Linked DNA regions of Homo sapiens: region 2 is linked to region 1. Evidence: promoter capture Hi-C in human tissues and cell types (Jung and others, 2019). All regions are on one chromosome and are shown on one strand. Each heading gives the region's core, a stretch centred on a gene start or on the middle of the fragment in contact. The rest is flanking DNA. Distances are from core to core; before and after follow the strand shown.

Region 1 (6,385 bases), core at 1,856-4,355:
CAGCATGGGGGAATTCAGCCTCCTTAGAGATGCACTCCCTGCTGAAATCTCACTGCGATGGCCGTTCCCGCCCTTCCGGGGCTCTGACCAAACACTCTGACCAGGAACGCTTCCCAACAGATAAGCAGTATTCTCCATTTGGTCTAATTTATGATTCAGAAGGAAAAGGCGAAAAACGAAAACTTTCTATTCATCTATTTTTCACACCAATGGAAGCAATGTGGTGATGTATGTATGCTGTTACAGTCACTTGTGTCCTCCTGACCTATAACATTTAGAGATCCTGTCCATATTCTTCTCAAAGCTTCTCATTAAAGCACCCAGCCCTGCGCCTGGTTCCCTGCAGAGATGGAGTAACTGCTCACCCACTTGAACAAAACGATAGTGGGGCATTAAGAGGAAGCCCCAGCTCCCAGGGAGAGGTCATCTCTCACAAGAGCTGGAACTCCACTGTCCATATCCAGGGTAGGTGAGGGGCTAACCCCAGGTCATAGCCAAGCAAGCACAAAGGCAAAAAGCCCAAAACAATCAGGATGCTCAGTGCCAGCCCAACACAGTGATAGCTGGAATGGGCAGGGCTAGAGAGAAGCCAGGACTGGAACCAGGGCGGGACCATGCAGGGAGCGGGAAAGTTTGGAGGAGCACAACAGCCCCTCCGAATGCCACCGCATCACCCTGTTCCCGGACCACAGGGAGAAGAACCACCATGCACCCTCCACCAGTATCTTGGGCAGATGGGCAGGAGCTCTAGGGCCGCTTCTCAGTGTTCCTCAGATGGAGAATCAACCTCAGGACAAATCAAGTCTGGATCCTTCTGGGCTGAATCCTTTCTAGGATTGGTACCTATCATGACATGGTCACATTCCTCCACTCCTCTATGAGAGGATGGAGTCATTGGACACCAACCTAATGCTGGCAAATGACAGACAGGAAGAGCCCCAGCAGGGCAGATGCCACAGAAACCTTAACTGGGACACAGAAACATCACTAACAAAGACCCAGCAGCTGTCTTGGTGAGGGAGACACAGTCTAACAGTCACAAAGAGGCACAACGGAGACCCTAACCCCCGGCCCTCTGCAGACACCTCTGCCTGCCCTCCCAGGGAAGCTGCCGGCCAAGATTATTTCAGGTCACCAGGCAAGACTGGGTGTAACTTGGGAATGTAAGTCTATCCAATGTCAGATCCCCAGGTGCATTCCTGTCCCTATGGCTGGTCAGAAGAAGTCTCTGCTCCTGCTCCCATCCTGCATCCCCTCCTTCCAAGGCCTACGGGCTGTGCCTCCTGGATCTGCCCCCTGGATTTCACTCACGCCTGTCCACCAGCAACACAACAAAGCGATCTTTCCAGCGCCGAGCTCTGCAGGATTCCTCAAAGGATTCCCCTGCACTCCCCACCAGGTGAGCCCTCAACTTCTCTGCTAGGTGCTCAGGACCTGGCACATCTGGCCTCTGGCCACCTTTGCAGCTTCCTCACCCTCTGCTGTCTCCAAAGCTTCCCCCGAAGGGAAAGAGTATTTTCCCTCTTTCCACCCATTTTGTCCTGAAAACTACTATCCCCCTGGGAACGACCCTATGTAGCGTGTGGGTGGCTGAGAACCCCCCTTCCACACAATGGTCAAGGCCAGGAGTACCCAAGCCCTGGCAGCAAACACCCAGCCTACTGCTCACCCAGTTAAAGGACGGACCCCTGGGTGACAGCAGGCCCCGGGGCTCAGTACACCGGACCCTTAGGCCACCTCAACACCAGTCCTCATGCCAGGCTGATCTCGAAACGTAACAGCTACTGCTCAGCAAAACGTGGTGGCTAGTGCCTGTAATCCCAACACCTTGGGAGGCCAAGACGAGAGCATGGCTTGAGTCCAGGAGTTCAAGACCAGCCTAGGCAACCTGCTAGACTCCATCTCTACAAAAAAAAAAAAAAAAAATTAAAAATTAGCCGTGCATAGTGGCATGCGCCTGTAGTCCCAGCTACTACAGAGGCTGAGGTGAAAGGATTGCTTGAGTCCAGGAGTTTGAGGCTGCAATGAGCTATGATGGCATCACTGCACTCCAGACTAGCCAACAGAGCCAGACCCTGTCTCAAAAAGAAAAAAACGAAAAGAAAGAAAAGAAAAAAAATATCCACTGCTCTACTCTTCGGCCAGTGGGAAGAGTGCATTTTTTAATCAAAATAGGGGCCTCTATCCATGAAACCCATCAACTTGTAAAATCTGAGCTCTCTGCAGCCTCACAGTCCCTCCAGCACTGCCAGCAGCCCTCGTTCCCTGCATGCTCTAAATCCTCAGCGAAGACCCGTCCCTTGCTCCCTCGCCCAGCACAGGCCGCGAGTGCCCACGTCCCCTGCACCTCGTGGGGCAGCCAAGGGGGCACCGCGTGGCTCGTGTGCTCCTGGGCAGTCCATTTTCAACCACAAGACGGAACAGACTCAGAATCCGGAACATCTCTCGGTGCTTAAGAGTTTTCCTTTAACAATCTTTACCTGTGGGAATGCAGAGACCCCCCCGCCCTGCGAGAGGCCGGCAGCCAGGGATTCCCCGCTCCGCGCCCTCATCACCCCCCGGAAACCACAACCGCTGCGCGCGCGGCTCGGACCCCCACCCGCCGCTCCCCTCCAGCAGACCCTAGGCCTCCGGGAAACCGCGCGGCGACCGCCCCGCGCCCCGCCAGATCCGAACCGCCGGACCCGGCACCCCGGCCACACCCGCCGGTGTCGACGCAGCGAGGCTCGGAGGGTGCATTCTCCGCGCCGACCGCTCCCCTCCTCCAGACCCGAGGGGCGGAGTGGGCAGGGCGCGCCGGCTGCGCACCGGGCACCCACCTGGGGACGCGGGGGCTGGGGCGGCGCGGGGCCACCTGGCGGACCCGGGAGCGGACTCCGGAGAGCAGGGAGCCCCTCCCCCCTCACTCTCCGGGCCCCGCCCGGCCGCCGCGCCCCGAGGCGCAGCCATCCCGCGGGAGGGGAGGCGCAGGAGGAGGCCAGCGCGAGGACACTTACTTAAAAGGCTACATCGCTTCATTCCCAGCCCATCCTGGGCGACGGCGGCACCTCCCTCGTCCGCTGCTGGGACCTCGATGCCCACCACCCTCGCGCGGCGATCTGGCCCTATAGCCCACCCCTTACTCCGCCGTGGGGCGGAGCCGCGCCACAGCTGACCCAATGAGAAACCGTCGTTTCCCAGAGTGACGTGTACGCAGAGCAATCATGGAGTCCAGCCCAGCCGGGGGCGGGGCTCAGGCGGCTCCCTACGCTTCCTACTCCAGCTGGCCCCGCCCCACGCCCGCAACTGCGCGTGCCCAGAACGTGAGGGGCGGGGCTGGGAGCCGGGCTGACACTAGAGGTGGGGTTAGCGCTTGGAAGCACCGACCAACGTGAGCGCAACGCGGCAGGGACACCTGACCCCGGCGGCGCCCAGCCCCTCGGATTGCCAGTCACTGCTCGCTTTGGGGCACGGAGGTGCCCAGTCCTGCGGGGCACCCGACGTCCTGTCGCCGACAGGGTCCGGGAGTCAGTATAGCTGGGTTCTAGTCCCATCACAGGCAAAAACTCCGCGGGAGCCTGGCCCGCTTTTTACCTGGGCCTCAGTTTCCCCATCCGTAAAATAGAACGGGTTGGATCTCCCGAGCGCTAACATTCCAGAACTCGGATGGGGCGAAGGGGAGGGAGGGATGGGCCACCCACACGTGACCTCCCCGCGTGGAGCCCCGCCTACCACTGATCCAGGGGGTGGCAGCTCCGGCCGGGACGAGCGGGGTGGGCGGGTCCTAGGAAACCCTACCCGGCCGCCCTTGGCAGCGCCTAAGGCGGAGCGCGCGGCTCTGCAGCCTGCTTGCCCCGGAGTTGGCACCCACGGAGGATGGGGACCGCACCCTCAGCTTCGCAGGGAGCCACCGTGGAGGCCAGGGCGGTGCAGAGACACGACGTGTGACTCGGAGTGCGCCTGGGGAGGATGGACGAGGGAGCGGGGGACCGCTAACGGGGCTCCCTCTGCGCGCCCCGTCCGCAGAGGCGCACGTCGAGGGTCCCGGGCGGGCTCCGTGGACGTTGGCGGTAGCGCCGAGCGAGTCACGGACCATGAAGAGCGTTCGTGCCGCGCGGCCCAAGGCCGGGATGGGGGTTAGCCACATCCTGCCGCGCTGAGGGGGAGGCTAACGGGCGCGGGCGGCCGGGCCCAGCCGGAGCCCACCGCGATGGCGAGGGAGGAGTGCAAGGCGCTGCTGGACGGGCTCAACAAGACGACTGCGTGCTACCACCACCTGGTGCTGACCGTCGGTGGCTCGGCGGACTCGCAGAACCTGCGGCAGGAGCTGCAAAAGACGCGCCAGAAGGCGCAGGAGCTGGCGGTGTCCACCTGCGCCCGGCTGACTGCTGTGCTGCGCGACCGGGGCCTGGCCGCCGACGAGCGCGCCGAGTTCGAGCGGCTCTGGGTGGCCTTCTCGGGCTGCCTGGACCTGCTGGAAGCGGACATGCGACGCGCGCTGGAGCTGGGCGCCGCGTTCCCGCTGCACGCGCCGCGGCGGCCGCTGGTGCGCACAGGTGTGGCTGGCGCCTCCTCCGGCGTGGCGGCGCGCGCGCTGAGCACCCGCAGCCTGCGGCTCGAGGCGGAGGGCGACTTCGACGTCGCGGACCTGCGGGAGCTGGAGCGCGAGGTCCTTCAGGTGGGCGAGATGATCGACAACATGGAGATGAAGGTCAACGTGCCCCGCTGGACCGTGCAAGCCCGGCAGGCGGCGGGCGCCGAGCTCCTGTCCACGGTCAGCGCCGGCCCCTCCTCGGTCGTGTCCTTGCAGGAGCGCGGGGGGGGTTGCGACCCCAGGAAGGCCCTGGCCGCCATCCTTTTCGGCGCCGTGCTGCTGGCGGCTGTGGCCCTAGCCGTGTGCGTGGCGAAGCTGAGCTGACGGACACCCGACGGCCGCCTGCTGCTGCCGCTCCCTCCCCTGAGAAAAGACTCGGGATGGGTGTGGGGTCTGGCCTGTGCAAGGGGAGTGGTCCTAAAACCCCGTGTGTGCATGGGTACACGCGCGTTTCCAGTGCACATCTGCCTGGGCAGGACACGGTTTCCTCTTGCTGGCCCGGGAGGAGTTAACTTTGCGCCGGCCGTCAGGGCATTACCGCTAACGTCTGCAGGAGCTTTATTCCCTATTAATAGAAAACCGTCACAGTGACCCTAGATCCCTCCGAGTTAATGAGTTAACACATGTGCTGTTGGGGCGTCTTTACAGGGAGTCCGAGTTCGGTGCCCACCCCTGCCAGCGTCGCCCCCTTTCTGCGTGGGACAGTTTGAAAAGGTGGGTGGGGTGGAGTGAAGTTTGGAGAGGGACGCTGTTTGGTTCTATGTGGTTGGTCTGTTTCCCGGACAAGAAAAATTGCAATCAAATGTCAGCAGCTTTTATTACCTTAATCTTTCAGGGCCTAAATTTAGGAGAGTGTCCCGAGAGCAGTTCATACAAAGGGCTTTCTCTAAGACGCGCTACAGCCCTTCCTAGCAGAGTTTATCCATTCGTCCCCAAGAGCAGCTAGAAGAGATTTGAGGTCATGACCTCCCACTGCCGCTCAGGGGCTGACCCTATTTAGGAAACCAAAGAGGGTGGGTTGAACCTACTCTCACGGACTTGGATCCAGTGCGCACACTTGCCTGCGGAAAAGGGCTCTCCCCAGCCACCCGGAGATGGGGGTAAGAGGAAGAGCAGAGGCTTGGGGTAGGGCCACCTGGTGTTTAAACAGGCACTTTCTCCTTCTCTGGGGCTTATTTTTGTTCAGAACTAGACCAGAGTGTTTGAACCTCCTTTGCAGGAGGGCTGGGAATCCTCTTTAGAGCACTTAATCCTATTTATCCCCTGGAATGTGCGTGCTGGCCAGTAGGAGGGCTGGCTTTGGCAGCTCCCTGACCCCCGCGCTGCCCGCCCCTCCGGGGTAATGTGGCATTACTGGCCCACAGAGGTTTTGAGCCAATCAGCTCTGAGACTGGGTTAGAATGTAACAGCTTTAACTTGGGATTTAAGAAGCTTTTAAAAGGTAATAATACTCTGAAAGAAAAATGACGTAACCACAGCGTGTACTATGAAAGCTGTTATTTTAATAAAGAACGCTGGGCCATGAACTCATACCTGCCAATGAGTCAAACATAGTATCTTTATGTAGATACTTAGATTACTAAATATATATTTCATCTACTTCTGAAGTTGATAGTCTTCCCCCCCCCCCACTTTTTTCTTTTTTGAGACAGGGTCTCCCTCTGTCACCCAGGCTGGAGTGCAATGGTGTGATTGTGGCTCACTGCAGCCTCCAAATCTCGGGCTCAAACTATCCTCCTACTTCAGCCTCCTGAGTAGCTGGAACTACAGGTGTGTGCCACCGCACCTGGCTAATGTTTTTAAGGCAGTTAA
Region 2 (6,313 bases), core at 3,660-6,159, 370 kb after region 1:
CACAGGCCAGGCACAGTGGCTCATGTTTGTAATCCCAGCACTCTGGGAGACCAAGGCAGGAGGATCACTTGAGGACAACAGTTCGAGAACAACCTGGGCAACACAGCAAGACCCTGTCTCTACAAATAATTTTTAAAAAATCAGTCGGGCATTGGCCAGGCACAGTGGCTCACGCCTGTAATCCCAGCACTTTGGGAGGCTGAGGCGGGTGGATCACGAGGTCAGGAGTTCGAGACCAGCCTGGCCAAGTTGGTGAAACCTCGTCTCTACTAAAAATACAAAAATGAGCCGGGCACGGTGGCGGGCACCTGTAATCCCAGCTACTGAGGAGGCTGAGGCAGGAGAATCACTTGAACCTGGGAAGCAGAAGTTGCAGTGAGCCAAGATCACGCCACTGCACTCTAGCCTGGGTGACAGAGCAAGACTCCGTCTCAAAAAAAAAAAAAATTAGTCGGGCATGGTGGTGCATGCCTGTGGTCCCAGCTACTCAGTAGGCTGTTAGGAGGATTGCTTGAAGAGCCCAGGAGGTTGGGGGCTACAGTGAGCTGTGATTGCACATTGCACTCCAGCCTGGGCAACAAGAGCGAAACTCCATCTGAAAAAAAAGAAAAAAGGTGGCATGACGCCAGACGCAGTAGCTCGCGCCTGTAATTCCAGCACTTTGCGAGGTGGAGGCAGACGGATCACTTGAGGCCAGGCGTTCAAGACCAGGCTGGCCAACATGGTGAAACCCCGTCTCTACTAAAAAGACAAAAAATTAGCCAAGCATGGTGGTGCATGCCTGTGGTCCCAGCTACTGGGGAGGCTGAGGCAGGAGAATCACTTGAACCCAGGAGACACAGGTTGCAGTGAGCCGAGATCACGCCACTGCACTCTAGCCTGGGCGACAGAGCAAGACTGTCTCCAAACAAACAAAAAACAAGGCGGCACGGGGCTAACCATGGTCTCCAGTAGAACTCTGAAGGAAGAAGAAACTCTGCACTCTTTGTAAACAGAGTGCTGGCACATTGTCTTTTGTTGCATTTCGTTGCCTGGAGAGGGTTTATAGAGGTCTAGACACAGGTAAGGCTTCTCTGAGTTCTATGCTGGGTAAGTAACTGTTTTACCACGAGAGCATACTAATGAGTGCCCTAGATCACGGGGGTGTACTGAGCCCTCTCATTAGCAAGGTGGACACTGGCAATAGAAATATCCCCTCTCCTTCCTTTCTGCTTTTCTTTCCTTTATATATTCAATAAACATTTACCAAGCAAATTCTGCACCAGGCATAGTGTCAGGCAGTGGAGAAAATAGACAAGTCCCAGAGAAAGCCAGAAAACAAACCTCGAGACAAAAATTGGGCTTCCCATCAAGATGGCTGACTGAATTGAAGCCAAATGCCACACCGTCTGCATCTATCTCCCACCCACCCAATCCCCAAACACACAAACAGGCGGGGTAAAATATCTGTTTTCAACATAACCAAGCTATAGGCAAGAAAGGGACGACTCCAGATGCCAGAAATGAGGAGGAAACCCAAAGCTGAAACCAAGAGCCTGGCCTGGGAGTTTAGGGAACAGATGACTAGGACTCAGGAGAGGCAGGGAAGCCAGAAGACACCTACTTCAGAAGGTTTTCCGCTCCGGTCCTCATCCGCACGGCTTTCAGGATCTGCTGATTCAAAGCAGCTCTTTGATTCTGCAATTTACTCCGGCCGGTTTGTGCAAGGGGATTACAGCCCTGAGGAAAAATAAGAGATGCCCCTTCAGAGGTCGGCCACTCTAAAAATGATGACAGGGTTTAATATAATGGAAAATGTTTAACTTTAAAAATAATCTTTTCTGAAAACAAAGCATCTACATAGAAAATATTGAAAAGTATAAAGAAAAGTCGCTCATAACAACACAATTGCAAAACAGCCACTGTGAATTGGTCTTTCCTTCTCATCTATTTTATTTATGTAATTTATTTTAGAGACAAGGTCTGAGCTAGGCACTGTGGCTCATGCCTGTAATCCCAGAACTTTGGAAGGCCAAGGCGGGTGGATCACCTGAAGTCAGGAGTTCAAGACCAGCCTGGCCAACATGGTGAAACCCTGTTTCTACTAAAAATACAAAAAATTAACCAGGTGTGGTGGTGGGCGCCTATAATCCCAGCTACTCAGGAGGCTGAGGCACGAGAATCGCTTGAACCTGGGTGCTGAAGGTTGCAGTGAGCCGAGATTATGCCACTGCACTCCAGCCTCGGCAACCAAAGTGAGACGCTGTCTCAAAAATAAATAAATTAATTAAAGACATATCTCTAGGGCAGAGTTATAAGATCAAACCTTTCAGGGCTACCCATGGGCCAGCCCAATCATCCTCCAGGACAGAAAGGCACCCACACCCTTGTGACCGCTTTCCCCCTCACTGTTACTGAGTATCTACTTTTTTTTTTTTTTTTTTTGGAGATGGAGTCTCGCTGCGTGCCTAGGATGCAGTGCAGTGGCGCGATCTCGGCTCACTGCAATCTCCGACTCCTGGGTTCAAGTGATTCTCATGCCTCAGCTTTCCAAGTAGCTGGGACTACAGGTGCATGTCACCATGTCCAGGTAATTTTTGTATTTTTAGTAGACACAGGGTTTCGCCATGTTGCCCAGGCTCGTCTTGAACTCTTGACTTCAAGTGATCCACCTGCCTTGGCCTCCCCAAAGGGCTGGGATGGCAGGTGTGAGCCACTGCGCCTGGCCTACTTTTTTTATTTAGTAACAGCTTTATGGAGATATAATCCATATACCATACGTTTTGCCCTTTTAAAATAAACAATTCATTGGTTTTTAGTATATTCAGGAGTTACAGAACCATCAGTGCTATCTGATTTTTTTTTTTTAGATGGAGTCTTGCTGTGTCATCCAGGCTGCAGTGCAGTGGCACAATCTCGGCTCACTGCAACCTCTGCCTCCCAGGTTCAAGTGATTCTCCTGCCTCAGCCTCCCGAGTAGCTGGAATTACAGGTGCCCACCACCACGCCTGGCTAATTTTTGTATTTTTAGTAGAGACAGGGTTTCGCCATGTTGGCCAGGCTGGTCCTGAACTCCTAACCTCAAGTGATCTGCCTACCTCAGCCCCCCAAAGTGCTGGGATTACAGGCGCGAGCCACCACGCCCATCAACCACTATCTGATTTTAGAACATTTTCATCAGCCTAAAAAAAAAGCAAGTAGCCATTAGCATCGCTCCTCATTTCCTTTTCCCCTTAACCCCAGCCCTAGGCAACCACCAATCTACTTTCTGTCTTTACAGGTTTGCTTATTCAAGATTATTTCATATAAACGGAATCATATAATATGTGGCCTTTGCATCTGGCTTCTTTCATTTGCCATGATGTTCTCAAGGTTTATCCAGGTTGTAGCATGTATCAGAACTTTGTCCGTTTTTGTCCCTGAATAAGATTTCATTACATAGATACACCACACTTGTGTACTTTATCCATTCATCATTCATCATACAATGGGCATGGGGAGTGTTTTCACTTTTTGACTATTACGAATAAGGCTGTTTATGTGCGTACAAGGTTTTATATGGATATGTGCTTTTGTTTCTCTTGGCTATAAATATAGAAATAAAATGTCTAGATCAGGTGGTTTTTTTGTTTTGTTTTTATTTTTGATTCTGTTTTTTTGAGACAGAGGCTTGTTCTGTCGTCCAGGCTTGAGTGCAGTGGCTCGATCTCGGCTCATTGCAACCTCTGTCTCCCAGGTTCGAACGATTCTCCTGCTTCAGCCTCCCGGGTAGCTGGGATTACAGGCGTGCACCACCATGACCAGATAATTTTTGTATTTTTAGTAGAGAGGCGGGTTTCATGATGTTGGCCAGGGTGATCTCAAACTCCTGACCTCAAGTGATCCGCTTGGCTTGGCTTCCCAATATGCTGGGATTACAGGCGTGAGCCACTGAGCCCGGTCTAGATCATATGATTTATTCTATGTTTAATGATTTGAGGAACTATCAGGCTCTTCAAAGTGGTTATACAATTTTACAACCCAACTAACAGGATGAGAGTTCCAATTCATCTACATCTCACCAATACAGGTGCTGGTCTATCTTTTTTATTACAGCTACCTTATGTGTGTGCTGTCTCACATCGTGGTTTTGAATTGTGTCTCCCTGACAGTTAATGATGTTGAATATCTTTTCATGAACTTATTGGCCAACTGTATATCTTCTTCGAAGAAATATCAATTCAGATCCTTTGCCCATTTTTTTTTTTTGAAACAGGGTCTCAGTCTGTCACCCAGACTGGACTGCTGCAGTGGTATGATCTTGGCTCACTGCAACCTTCACCTCCTGGGTTCAAGTGATTCTCCTGCCTCAGCCTCCTGAGCAGCTGGGACTACAGGTGCATGCCACCACGTCCGGCTAATTGTTCCATTTTTTGGTAGAGACAAGGTTTCACCATTTTTTTGCCAGGCTGGTCTTGAATTCCTGACCTCAAGTGATCTGCCCATCTTGGCCTCCCAAAGTGCTAGTCTTACAGGTGTGAGCCACCACACCCAGCTCTCCTTTGCCCAGTTTTAAACTGGATTGTCTTTTTATCTGTCTGGTTGAAAATTATTTTTAATTTCTGTCAAGTTGACATGCAAAAATAGATAGCTCATTCTTCTAATTTGTATGTTTATTATAACAGTGAAGGTAAAGGTTTTTCCATATAATCTTGACACTTTAATTTCTTTTTCAACAAATTGTCTGTGTTCTCTGACCATTGTGCCCTGGGGTATTTGGATTACAACGCTTCACGCTAAAAGTTTAAGATCAGAATAAAAGCTGCATTTTAGCTGAATGGTGTTCTTCCCACCCCAGACAGGTAGAAGCCTCAGGACCTGGGATACGCCCACATTCCTCTTTGCCGCTTATCTCTAGGTCCTGCCCACTGCGGTTACTCCCTGGGAGCGGTCTGGCGGGTAGTATTACGTGGTGAAGAGACTGCCCTTTCTCTCTCCCTGAGTCACATCTCAGGCCTGCACACACCTGGCCTCTCCGACCTCTGCCCAAGCCACACCCATGGCCTGGACCCCAGGGAGGGAGATGTGAGTTATCTATAGCGGAAACCTCCTCAGGAATCCCAGTATTCTCCTTCCACAGAGATTTCTCATTCTTGGCCAGAATGGTCATGGTAGCTCACAACTGTAATCCCAAGCACTTTGAGAGGCTGAGGCCAGAGGATCGCTTGAGGCCAGGAGTTTGAGGCTGCGGTGAGCTACAATTGCGCCACTGCACTCCAGCCTGGATAACAGAGTGAGACTCTGTCTCTACAAATAATAATAAAAATTTTTAAATAATAATAAAAATAAAAGACTTCTCATTCTCATTTCCCATCAGGTCACCACCACCCATCCCCCACATAGCCCCACAACCTAATTTTCCCTGTCTCGCAAGGACACTTTCCCCCAAGTTCAAATTGCACAGATATTCGGAATTCGAGTTGGCTTCTGTAGACAGGCTGGAGTGCAGTGGTACGATCTCAGCTCAGTACAGCCTCTGCCTCCTGGGTTCAAGTGATTATCCTGCCTCAGCCTGCTGAGTAGCTGGAATTACAGGCACCCACCACCACACCCAGCTAATCTTTCTATTTTTAGTAGAGATGGGGTTTCACCGTGTTGGCCAGGCTGGTCTCGAACTCCTGACCTCAGGTGATCCACCCGCCTCGGCCTCCCAAAGTGCTGGGATTACAGGCATGAGCCATGGCATCCAGCCCTGGAATGGATTTTAAAATTAATATCGTTTAAAGCATTAAACGGTTTCCAATTTTGTCTTTCTTCAGATTTAAGATTAAAATATCTTTGGCCGGGCATAGTAGTTCACGCCTGTAATCCCAGCACTTTGGGAGGCTGAGGCGGGTAGATCACCTGAGGACAGGAGTTCGAGAACAGCCTGGCCAACATGGTGAAACCCTGTCTCTACTAAAAATATAAAAATTAGCTGGGCGTAGTGGCATGCGCCTATAATCCCAGCTACTCTGGAGGCTGAGGCAGGAGAATCACTTGAACCCGGGAGGCAGAGGTTGCAGTGAGCCAAGATAACACCACTGCACTCCAGCCTGGGTGACACAGCGAGACTCAGTCTCAAAAAAAAAAAAAAAAAAAACTTTAATGTTAAGCTATTATAATTAAATATTAAATAACTAAAATAACTGTTCATCTCTTTCCTTTCCACTTCCAAAAATGACGACGATTCAGTTTGACTCTGAATTACCTGGATCACCACTGCTGTGTTTCATTTTACAGGGAAGCTTGAATAACTAATTCCTTTACGTACATTCCCAGAGCTCAGATAAGCAGCCATTCCAAACTACGGATA

The links. The method cuts DNA at HindIII sites, captures the fragments that hold promoters and counts their contacts. A contact is called where the count stands out against the background at its distance.
Region 2: a fragment that was not itself captured here is called in contact with the fragment with the promoter of ANKRD27 in region 1 in 1 of the 25 tissues and cell types used here (IMR-90 fibroblasts).

Annotation. Positions count from the first base shown.
Region 1 is chr19:32,672,075-32,678,459 of GRCh38, forward strand. ANKRD27 (ankyrin repeat domain 27) reads right to left here and starts at 3,106. Exons shown (of 29, transcript NM_032139.3): 1 at 2,997-3,106. It overlaps RGS9BP (regulator of G protein signaling 9 binding protein), which reads left to right and starts at 3,774. Exons shown (of 1, transcript NM_207391.3): 1 at 3,774-6,226. The coding sequence starts at 4,190. The coding sequence ends at 4,897. RefSeq lists silencers at 2,591-2,640, 2,661-3,390, 3,961-4,020 and enhancers at 3,034-3,653, 3,541-3,650, 4,421-4,470. The HindIII fragment of the contact is 6,498 bases long and covers 899-6,385 here.
Region 2 is chr19:33,042,646-33,048,958 of GRCh38, forward strand. It overlaps RHPN2 (rhophilin Rho GTPase binding protein 2), which reads right to left. Exons shown (of 15, transcript NM_033103.5): 2 at 1,604-1,719. Among named protein-coding and RNA genes, the nearest start is that of RHPN2, 19 kb to the right of the region's middle. RefSeq lists enhancers at 675-1,225, 5,635-6,313. The HindIII fragment of the contact is 8,752 bases long and covers 534-6,313 here.